3 separate regions of the Homo sapiens genome follow, and regions 1 and 3 are each linked to region 2. Evidence: promoter capture Hi-C in 16 types of primary human blood cells and fetal thymus (Javierre and others, 2016). All regions are on one chromosome and are shown on one strand. The core of a region is centred on a gene start or on the middle of the fragment in contact, and the rest is flanking DNA. Distances in the headings are between cores, read along the strand shown. Region 1 has its middle 26 kb from the start of LINC02790. Region 2 holds the start of PTBP2 (polypyrimidine tract binding protein 2). Region 3 has its middle 43 kb from the start of LINC02790.

What was found. Contacts are between HindIII fragments. The CHiCAGO score rates a contact against its expected background, and 5 or more counts as called.
Region 1: a contact is called between a fragment that was not itself captured here and the fragment with the promoter of PTBP2 in region 2, in 1 of 17 cell types (megakaryocytes). The highest score is 7.1, in megakaryocytes.
Region 3: a contact is called between a fragment that was not itself captured here and the fragment with the promoter of PTBP2 in region 2, in 1 of 17 cell types (megakaryocytes). The highest score is 8.1, in megakaryocytes.

What each region holds. Positions count from the first base shown.
Region 1 is chr1:95,964,317-95,967,565 of GRCh38, forward strand. No RefSeq gene overlaps it. Among named protein-coding and RNA genes, the nearest start is that of LINC02790, 26 kb to the right of the region's middle. The HindIII fragment of the contact is 1,119 bases long and covers 1,230-2,348 here.
Region 2 is chr1:96,720,222-96,723,258 of GRCh38, forward strand. It overlaps PTBP2 (polypyrimidine tract binding protein 2), which reads left to right and starts at 1,563. Exons shown (of 14, transcript NM_021190.4): 1 at 1,563-1,651. The coding sequence starts at 1,644. RefSeq lists silencers at 1,329-1,528, 1,759-2,038. The HindIII fragment of the contact is 2,234 bases long and covers 1-1,624 here.
Region 3 is chr1:95,947,459-95,950,647 of GRCh38, forward strand. No RefSeq gene overlaps it. Among named protein-coding and RNA genes, the nearest start is that of LINC02790, 43 kb to the right of the region's middle. The HindIII fragment of the contact is 1,873 bases long and covers 827-2,699 here.

The DNA.
Region 1 (3,249 bases), core at 539-3,038, 760 kb before region 2:
GGATAGGTCTGGTGCTGATGAAATCTCTCAGCTTTTGTTTGTCTGAAGAAGTATTTCTCCTTTATGTTTGAAGGATATTTTCACCAGATACACTATTTTAAGGTAGAAGGTTTCTTCCTTCAGCACTTTAAATATATCATACCACTTTCTCCTGGCCTGTAAGGCTTCCACTAAAAAGTCTGCCACCAGCTGTATTGGAGCTCCATTGTTAAGTTATTTGTTTCTTTTCTCCAGCTGCTTTCAGGATTCTTTCTTTACCCTTGACTTTTACGAGTTGGATTATTACTTGAAATTGTATGCCTTCAAGTCCTTGTTTTTTAATATCTATAGTGGCATTTATAAAAAACTTTATCTAATTATAGGTATTCATAAATCTTATAAAAATGTGACATGACATGATGACAGATTTTTTGCAAGTGTGTAGAGTTTGCAATTTTATGTTTTTAATTATTTTCATGTCCATGTGATCTTCAGAGCAATGCTATAAATTAGGTATGGCAGCTAACAGTACTGTCATTTTTAGAAGAGGTTTTGGACATTCCTTTTTAAAATAAGTTAAAAATTTCTTTCCATATTCTTTTTTGTATTATGAACATGTGAGCTTCTTTAGATTAAGGGCTGTATCTAGATAGTCTTTGATAGCCTTCTTAGTACTAGAGTAGATGTATTAGGGACTTAATACATACTGTTTAATAGATGCCCAGGAAATCTGAGCTTCTCTCCTGGTGCCAGACTCTTTTACCATGATATTAGAAACTCACTACTCACACTTATTACTCTGTGTTTTCCTCACTGGGATTCCTAGAAATTGGCAGCAAATACACAAGGAAAAAAATAGTGTGTCTTTTGCCACCTGAGAAAGGGCAGATGGGTTAGCTTTTAGGGGAAGATTTCTCACATCAGAGAGTATTTCATTGTAATGAAGGGTGGTTTGCTTATCTTAATAGTTGTGTGGATTCAATTGAGCATTTAAAGTCCACTCATAAATTTAACAATTCATTTATTTTTTTTAAGGTCAGTGTACAATGGTAGCCAAACCCCCGAAATTGCTTATTGCAGGTTCTTCCTACAAAAGCTTATATTCAAGTTAGGGAAACAAAATCTGTGCCCATGAAAGGTGTGAATGCAACTTCAATAGAGTGGAGGAAGAAGACATCAGGCTAGGCATGACTTGTGTAAAGGTGGATAACTCACTCAAAATTTGTTAACAAGAAACACATACCTAAGAAAGCTTCAGGTAAGTACAGGCTTTCCCAAGGTTATAGATATCCGTGCATTTTGAGAGCAGAAAAGAGGAATAGGGAGGTGTTGGAGAAGGATATGCAGATTGGAGCAAAAGAATTTAAAAATTGAAAAGTACTTGGATCTTTATGACATTATGCAGAAGAAAGCATGTTTTCTTCTAAGAAGAGAAAATAGACTACAAATAAGAACATTCATCTACTTTGTCCAAATGAAAATTGTCTCTTGCTCCTTGAAAACACTTAATGTGAACCTATGACTTTATAATACAGTCATACATTGCTTAACAATGAGGATACCTTCTGAGAAATGTGTCATTAGGCAATTCTGTCATTGGATCAACATCATAAAGTATACTTACACAAACCTAGATGATATAGCTTAATATGCACCTAGGATATATGGTGTAGTCTATTTCTCCAAGGATACAAACTGGTACAACATATTGCTGCGCTGAACACATAGTCAACTGGGACACATAGTAAGTATTTGTGTATCTAAAAATATCTAAACACAGAAAAGGTACAATGAAATATTGTATTATAGTCTTATGCAGTCCATCATTGACAGAAGTGTCATTATATAGTGCATTACTATATATGACACTACTAATGCCTTTATCATGTATATTGTCTTATGATTTTTTTTATCTTCCCCAATTTAAATCTTTTAATTTAAAAGTAAACTTTACTGTCGAAAATGCAAACTTGGGGAGGGCAGAAAGATCACACACAAGGCTGCCACTTCACACCTGTAGGGTTGCATGGCGGCAGGGCAGAAGCGCTCCTCACTTCCCAGATGGTGCGGGGCCTGAAAGAGGTGCTCCTCTCTTTGATTTTTAAAGAAATGTCTGGTTTCGCAACCAAACAATTCTATTCACAATCCATACTTCTCATATGTATTATCTTACAAAAAAATTTGCATTACTAGGTGGATCTGCTATTTTACTATTTAGTATAATACAGTCTGCTACTTTTTTTTCAAGAGACATAACCTTATTTATTGAACTTCAAAAATACATTTAACCTCTGTAGATAGCTTCAACACATCTAAGTGTGATTAGGTTGAGACAGATGGGATGAGACGGAAAAGACTCATCAGATAAAAGCTTACTTCTCACTCACATTTTGCCTTCATCATTTTTCTTTCCTTAATGAATCCACAGAACCCCTGCTGCATTCAGGAAAACTTTAAAAAACACCATATGTTTCCGATAACCCTACTAACCTTCTTAGTACTTTTAACTTTTTTTCCTTTTAACTGTTGCTGCAACACTTGAAGTACATTAATACACTATCTAGCTGATGGCTTCTGTATCTAAATCACAATTTCAACATCTCAGCTCATTCTCAATGAAGAACTTTATGAAAAAACAAAAAATTAGATTATGAAATTCTTTCATCAGGGCCAAAAAGGAAGCTAATTGTGGAGAATGCTTTTTTTTTCTCCTAATATACATAGTATTGCTGGAACTGATAAGAAGACACAATGTTATATATATGCCAGCTAAATAGGAATGTGGTTTTGAAAATTTGCTATCTTTCCCAGGCTGTCTAAAATGACTTCTGCTATTTCTGTAGGTAGGTCACACATTAGTCCATTTTACTTTCAGATGTGTAAAAAAATTATGCATGAACAAATCCTCTAGTTATAGATAATGTAACATAACAATTGGAAGACAGTGTATTTTAAATTGATAATGAAAATACTTCCTTTTCAAACAAACTCTACAACCATCTTGTTTCACACTGCTGATAGAGGACAATTCTAGACCAGAGAATATTCAACTAAGTGAATATGTCTTTTCTTGGCCTCCAATATTTTTCCAGTAAATATTCAGTCCATCAAGAAGTGTTTTTAAAACAGCTAGTTATCACCCAGCACTGTGCTAGGTAACGGGAAATATATCTAGGGCACTTAAAATCTAGCTGAGAAGACTACTGAATAATTCAAAATGGCATATAACCAAATTAGTGGTGAGTGACACAAACATCATGAATTTTCTAG
Region 2 (3,037 bases), core at 313-2,812:
CAAGAATTTGTAAAAATTTGGGTGCTTTGAAGAGTTCTATAGCAAAGTGTTTGGACAAGATGCTCTTTAAGGGTCTATCCAATTTAAAAGTAATATTATTTATGGCCGGGCACGGTGGCTCACGCCTGTAATCCCAACACTTTGGGAGGCTGAGGAGGGCAGATCACCTGAGGTCAGGAGTTCGAGACCAACCTGACCAACATGGAGAAACCCTGTCTCTACTAAAAATACAAAGTTAGCTGGGCGTGGTGGCGCGTGCCTGTAATCCCAGCTACTCGGGAGGCTGAGGCAGGAGAATCGCTTGAACCAGGGAGGCCGAGGTTGCAGTGAGCCGAGATTGCGCCATTGCACTTCAGCCTGGGCAACAAGAGCGAGACTGGGTCTCAAAAAAAAAAATTCTAAAAATTATACACAATATCATTTAGTATATGAAATTCCAATTAGCAAAGGATAAGAGCTTTGCCTGAAGGAGACACAGAAAAACCCAGAGTGAGTATTGAGAGTAACTGGAGGGACACAGGGAGTATTTGTCATTTTTCAGAATTAGAAGTGCATTTGTCCTTGTGTGTGTTGGGGGTGGAGGTGAAGGGTGCAGGAGAAGGATGGGTACTGGCAAAGTCGCTACTCACTGAGCAAATTTTCAAGCGGGTGCCTTTCCCAATTTTGTTGAGCCTCTGATAAAAACACGTTGAAGTAAAATGTCCACTATAGTATCAAGTAAAAATTGAGACCGTAAGATATAGCAAAGGGAGTCAATTTGCATAGCCCATTTTAATGCTTCTACTTTCTCTAACCAATCTGAAGACTCAGTTGTTCCCACTCCCATCTCCACTTTCCCTTTCATGCCTCCAAATGTTAAACTCCAACTATTGTAGCATTTTAACACATGGCTCCATTTGTGTCTATTTCCACCTAGCGTATTGTGAATATTTTCTACAGGCGCACACTAATCACCAACTGAAGTGAGAATCACATTTTCCTCCACTTGGCTTGGTACTACAGGTCTTGAAGCAAAAGCCTGTATTTCAGTCTGAGGAGTTCTACTTGCTTGAGAAAGTACTGTTGTTACCAAGTGGTCTCGTTCAGTGGGGTAAAGATTTTTGTTTTAGAGGCTGGAGCCGGTCTGCAAATAAAAGATGGCTTAGGAGAAAAGCTATCCAATGTTTTTTCCTTGGCCCGCATAGGTTGACGGTAGCCAAGCTGGTACTTGGCTTGGAGTGAAAAGTGGAGGCTGCCTGGGGGCGTCCTGCAGTCAGGGCAGAGAGAGTGTGGAGAGCTGTTGGGAGGTGTCCCACCCACGCCCCCACAAGGAGGGGAAACCAGGTCGCCGCGGTCTGCAGCAGAACGCCAGGTTCCAGAGGACGGCAGGCGGAGGGCGGAGGGAGAAAGGCGCGCGAAGGCGCGGAGGAGGCGTCGGCTGCGGCGCCCACTCCCCCTAGTCCCAGCGCCCTGCCGCTCGCCTCCCGCTGCCGGGCGCCGGCGCGCTCGGCTCTTTCCGCCGCCGCCGCTGCCGCGCGGTGGCCCGTGCGCCTCGGCACCTTCGGCAATTTCCGTCGGGCCCCAGCCGCCATTTTCTCGCCGCTTGTGTGGCTCGCTGGCTGCGTGGCTCGGTTCTTGTGAGCGAAGCTTTGTCCGGTTCGGCAATGGACGGGTATGTAATCGGGCCGGCGAGAAGGTGTGTGTGAGAGAGGAGTTGGACCGTCCTTCGGCCCGGTCCCGGGCCGGGGAGAAACCCTCCCGCGGCCCCTCCCAGGGCTGGGCTGCCGTTACCCAACCCCCGCCCCATCGCACACACCCCTCCCTTTGCTTCCCCCGGCGGGCTTTGGTCGAGAAAATGAGAAGAAAGCGGGCTTGGAGGCTGGGGAGGCATAGGGGCGATGGCGGGGGTGAGGATCCCGGAGTGGGAGCGGGCACCGGCTTGGCGGCGGGGGATGGGGTGGGAACCCCATAACGTCTCCCCGGTCTGTCCCTGCCCCCTCTAGGAGCCATTTCGATCCGTACCTTGGGACCCGACCCTTGGGTTAGCGGTGCCTGTGAGAGCGAGTGGGATGGGCAGAGACAGGCCTTTGGATTGGGGGAGCCTCTAGGGGAAGAGGAGAGAGGCACCCCATGTGGACCCCAGCCATGAGCAACCTCTCCGGCCTCGCCCGGCCCTCCGTGGTCGGGAGAGATGCCGGTGGCGGGAGCTCCGGGGAAAGCCTAGTGGGAGCCGCTGGGGAAGGGGGGAGGGCGTGCGGCGGCGGGAGGAAGGGGGAGGGCAGATGTCATACTCCTTTGTTTTCATTTGAGTCTGGTAGTGGGGGCGGGAGGGAGGAAAAAATGCCTTTTTGTGGGGACTGAAAACATTCAAGGCTTGGCAAAAGGGCCCAGAAATTAAATCATCTAAAAAACGAAGTGTTTGAAGCCGACATCAGTCACATGGGCAAAGGCCAACAGCAATGGCAGAAACAAGAGCAGATAGTCAACAAAGGGCTATCTCTTTAGCTACTTTGGTCAGTTTCTGGAAAAACGACTATAAAAACCCAGAACCATGCTGCATCTTTGCGAACCTGAGTCAAGACGGAATGCTGAGTGAGGTGAGAGGCAAGACTGTGAAATGGTAGGGACCGATGTCTCGCTCATATGCTTCACACCTGAAAAGACTCAGTAATTTAACTCAATGTTAGAAAGGGGGCACGCTTAAGGTCAAAAATACAGCAGTATGCAGCTCTTTTGGGAGTGTAAACATAGTATCATTTAACAAGTACATTTATTAAAATCAGTGAGTATTTGAAGAATCAACAATTTGGTTAAGCGCCTAGAGTTTGGTGTGTTTTAAAAGGTACTAAAAACAAGATTTTATAAAAGTTAACACAGTCTCACAGAATTCAAATCATCCTAGATGTTACCTAAAGATTATTTTCCAGATGAAACAAATCCAGAGAAGTTCAGTATTCCCCCCAGATCAACACGGAAATTGATGTCAAAACTTGCACTAGAATTCATGTTTCCTGATTCCTGGTTCCTGTGGAGACTACTAAAGAGTTTAAGCGTTAAA
Region 3 (3,189 bases), core at 513-3,012, 770 kb before region 2:
AATACTTAAAACCATGCCTAAGTTATAAGTTTTTCAACAAATAGAAGCTCTCTCCAGTGAACTCCAGGATCCAGTAGAAAACATAAAGTGACTGATGTCTTTAGAGTTTTCTCTGATGTCTTCAGTAGAGGCAGGAGATTGCAATATATATCAAATTTCTTTAATATTTCTTCTATCACCTTTCTTTAAAAGAACTTTCTGTGTGGATTTAAGAAAATACAGTAGCCTTCCAAATAACCTTATGGCTGGTCTAGGAACATAGGTAAATAGGAAAATCTTGTCACTTATTCCCTAGAAATGTTCTGCCATATTCAATTCGTTATGAGTAAAGTGAAGTTCATGACATTTTATTTTAATCCCAGAATAAACAAAGGAGTTAAATCAATGTTGTATTTTTCTTCTGAAAGTTCTGCTCAAATGTATGTAAGATAATCATGAAGCCAAAATAAGATTAATACACATTGCACATGGAAAAAATTTTAAAAATATAAACATACATTTAGAGTGGCATATGAGGTTGGGCTAATTACTTGTAATGTAAGATAGAGTAGTATTTTAAATGAATGATTTAAAATAGAATTTTTTTACATTGAAACTTGTGGCTATGGCTGTCTAGAAACTAGGAAACTTAGCTGCAATAAGTTATTTATTTATTTTGTTGTTATTTAGTTGAGACCATTCTTCCAGTTTCCCCTTCCTTCCACAACTGACATTTCCATAGTTTATTCATCTATGGTGAGTCTGCTGAGTCAGTATCACCTCCAGCAGTCCTTCCTGTCAGTCATTAACACATCCTTAGAAAAGCTGACTTGGTGGAAGATAAGAAAGCTTCTTTAGATGCTTAAATCTAACTACAGAATGGTGGTGGGAATAGAAATCAATTAAAATATGGGCACCAAATAAACATGGAAGCAATTTATATGAAAAGTGTCATGGAAAGAGAAAATCTGTAGTTCTAAGAGAAGGAGTGTTGAGATTAAGTATGATTTTCTGAAAAGGAGAAAAATAAAAAAAATAAATATGATAATGAAAGGAACAAAAGAAAGGAAACAAGAAAACTTATGGACAATGTTGTAAGGTGGAATGGGGGCTCTTTAAAGATTTGTGGGGATGAAACTAACATTTATGAAGACTTTTTCTCTATGTAGAAATAAAGCCATTGGAATACATTGTTAAGTCAAAATAGCACCAAAAGGCTGTAACCTCTTTGATCAATAGAAAACCAGTTTTTCATAAAACAGGTTTTCTATTGATTGGTGACATCATCCTCATTAATGAATAAGCAGGAGGTCCTCAATGTACATCAGCCTTCACTCAACATTAGTTTTTGTTTCATGGTGTACATTATTGGCCCTTGGGTGGAAATAGAGCCCTGAAATATCTCATTGTCTTTTACTTCAATAAGTCCCAGAGGAAGAGAGTTGTCCAGTAAAGTTCTAGAATCTTGTTAGTGCTTAAGAGTGCACATTAGTAATTATAGTATAAATAAATTGCTTCCAATTTACTCTAGGATAATTTACACTTAGGTGTAATATTAATCCCTATCCTTTGTCCCCAGCTTTCAACCCAGAAGGTGAATAATTTTACAATAATTCACTAGATGGCATGTCTGGATTCAGTGTAAAAACAATCCTTCACATAGTAAGTCTGTGCATCTGTTTGGTTATGCTTCTTGGTACCTGATACCACATAACAGATAGGAAAAAAATAATAGTTGGTATCATGTACATTTGGTAAATACCAATTTTTAGTGATTTTTGCAGAAAAACTATAATAACATATACATGAAAATTACTATTTATTGAAGCATAATGCACAGTAATGTACATGTTTCCATGTAGCATCATTTGTCTACTAGAAGTGTGGAGCAAAAAAAATAAAGAAGTGTATCATGTAGAGCTTGGTGTACATGTTCTCAACTACTGCATGCTTTGTTTTTAAATAGCAATTTATAATATGTCATACATTCCTTTCTAAAGTGGGAGATTCTTCACTACAGGATTATTTTAGATGGAGTGAAAGAGTTGCCAAGGTCTCCTGCTGTAGAACTTCACCTCAAATGCTATTGAACATATTGTGTGAAGTCAGTGCATAGTGTTGGCAGCAAATATTTATTTGAAAATTTACAAATATATTTTATTTACCAAACACATTTATTACTTGTAAATAGTTGGAAGAGAAATGGCTCCTAAGCAGTTTTCTAACATGACTTTAGATCCCAACTATATTGTACAATGCTGCAGTATCTTTATGAAATTTGCATTGACATTGTTATACTTGTTGCTCATGTCATCTTTAATGTTTTCATTTTTAATTTTTGACTAATGCTAGTAAAATAATTCCAAAAGCAAATAGCCCATTTTTTCTGTTGGTCCATTAGTTTTCAAGTGTTTTATTTCAATCTTTTGGTGACAAGAAATTTTTCACCATAAAGTTGATGTAGATTTTCATGAAAATCAGCTTTCTTGCAAATTAAGATGGAATACTCAGGTTGAACTCCGGAGAGCCCAGGATAATGGCAGCAGCAGAGAGAGATTTAATTGTCATCTACTAAAACATAATTTGCAGACTACCTCACACACATGAATCACTTCCAAAGATTGGGGGATAGTCCTAGGAATATGTTACATAATTATAAATTGTAAAATTTGCAAAATTATTTATTCTTTTTTATAAGGGAATAAATTGTATAAACTCCAAGCTTTGCAAGTACTATATCTATTTATAGAGAATTCAGATCTTCTTCTCCCTTTGCCAGGGAAGATTGCTTGCTTATGTAGGTTTCTAAGAGAAATGAAAATCAACTGATATCATGGCTTAATAAACTTTCAAAAATGAGTAGATTGTTTCCAGGAGAGTTTTCAAGCTGCTGGGTCTTCTGTTTTTAACCTTAAGTTCCAGTTATTATTTTCTGTTTTCAAACAATTCTTTTTGACTTAATGAAATAATTGATATTGTTTATGTCTTGGTGATAGCCACATGCTTGAGTAGAATCAGCTTAGAAATATTGCTAATGATGAAATTGTAAATGTTAGTGTGTCAAGATATCTGTAAATGTCATTAATGTGTGTAAATAATTTAGGAAATTTATGTACCTATAATGGGGATTAATAAGAAAATTTATGTACTGCTAGAAATATATAATCAAAGAAGTGGAAAGCTATTAAAACAGATATTGAATGAAATCCA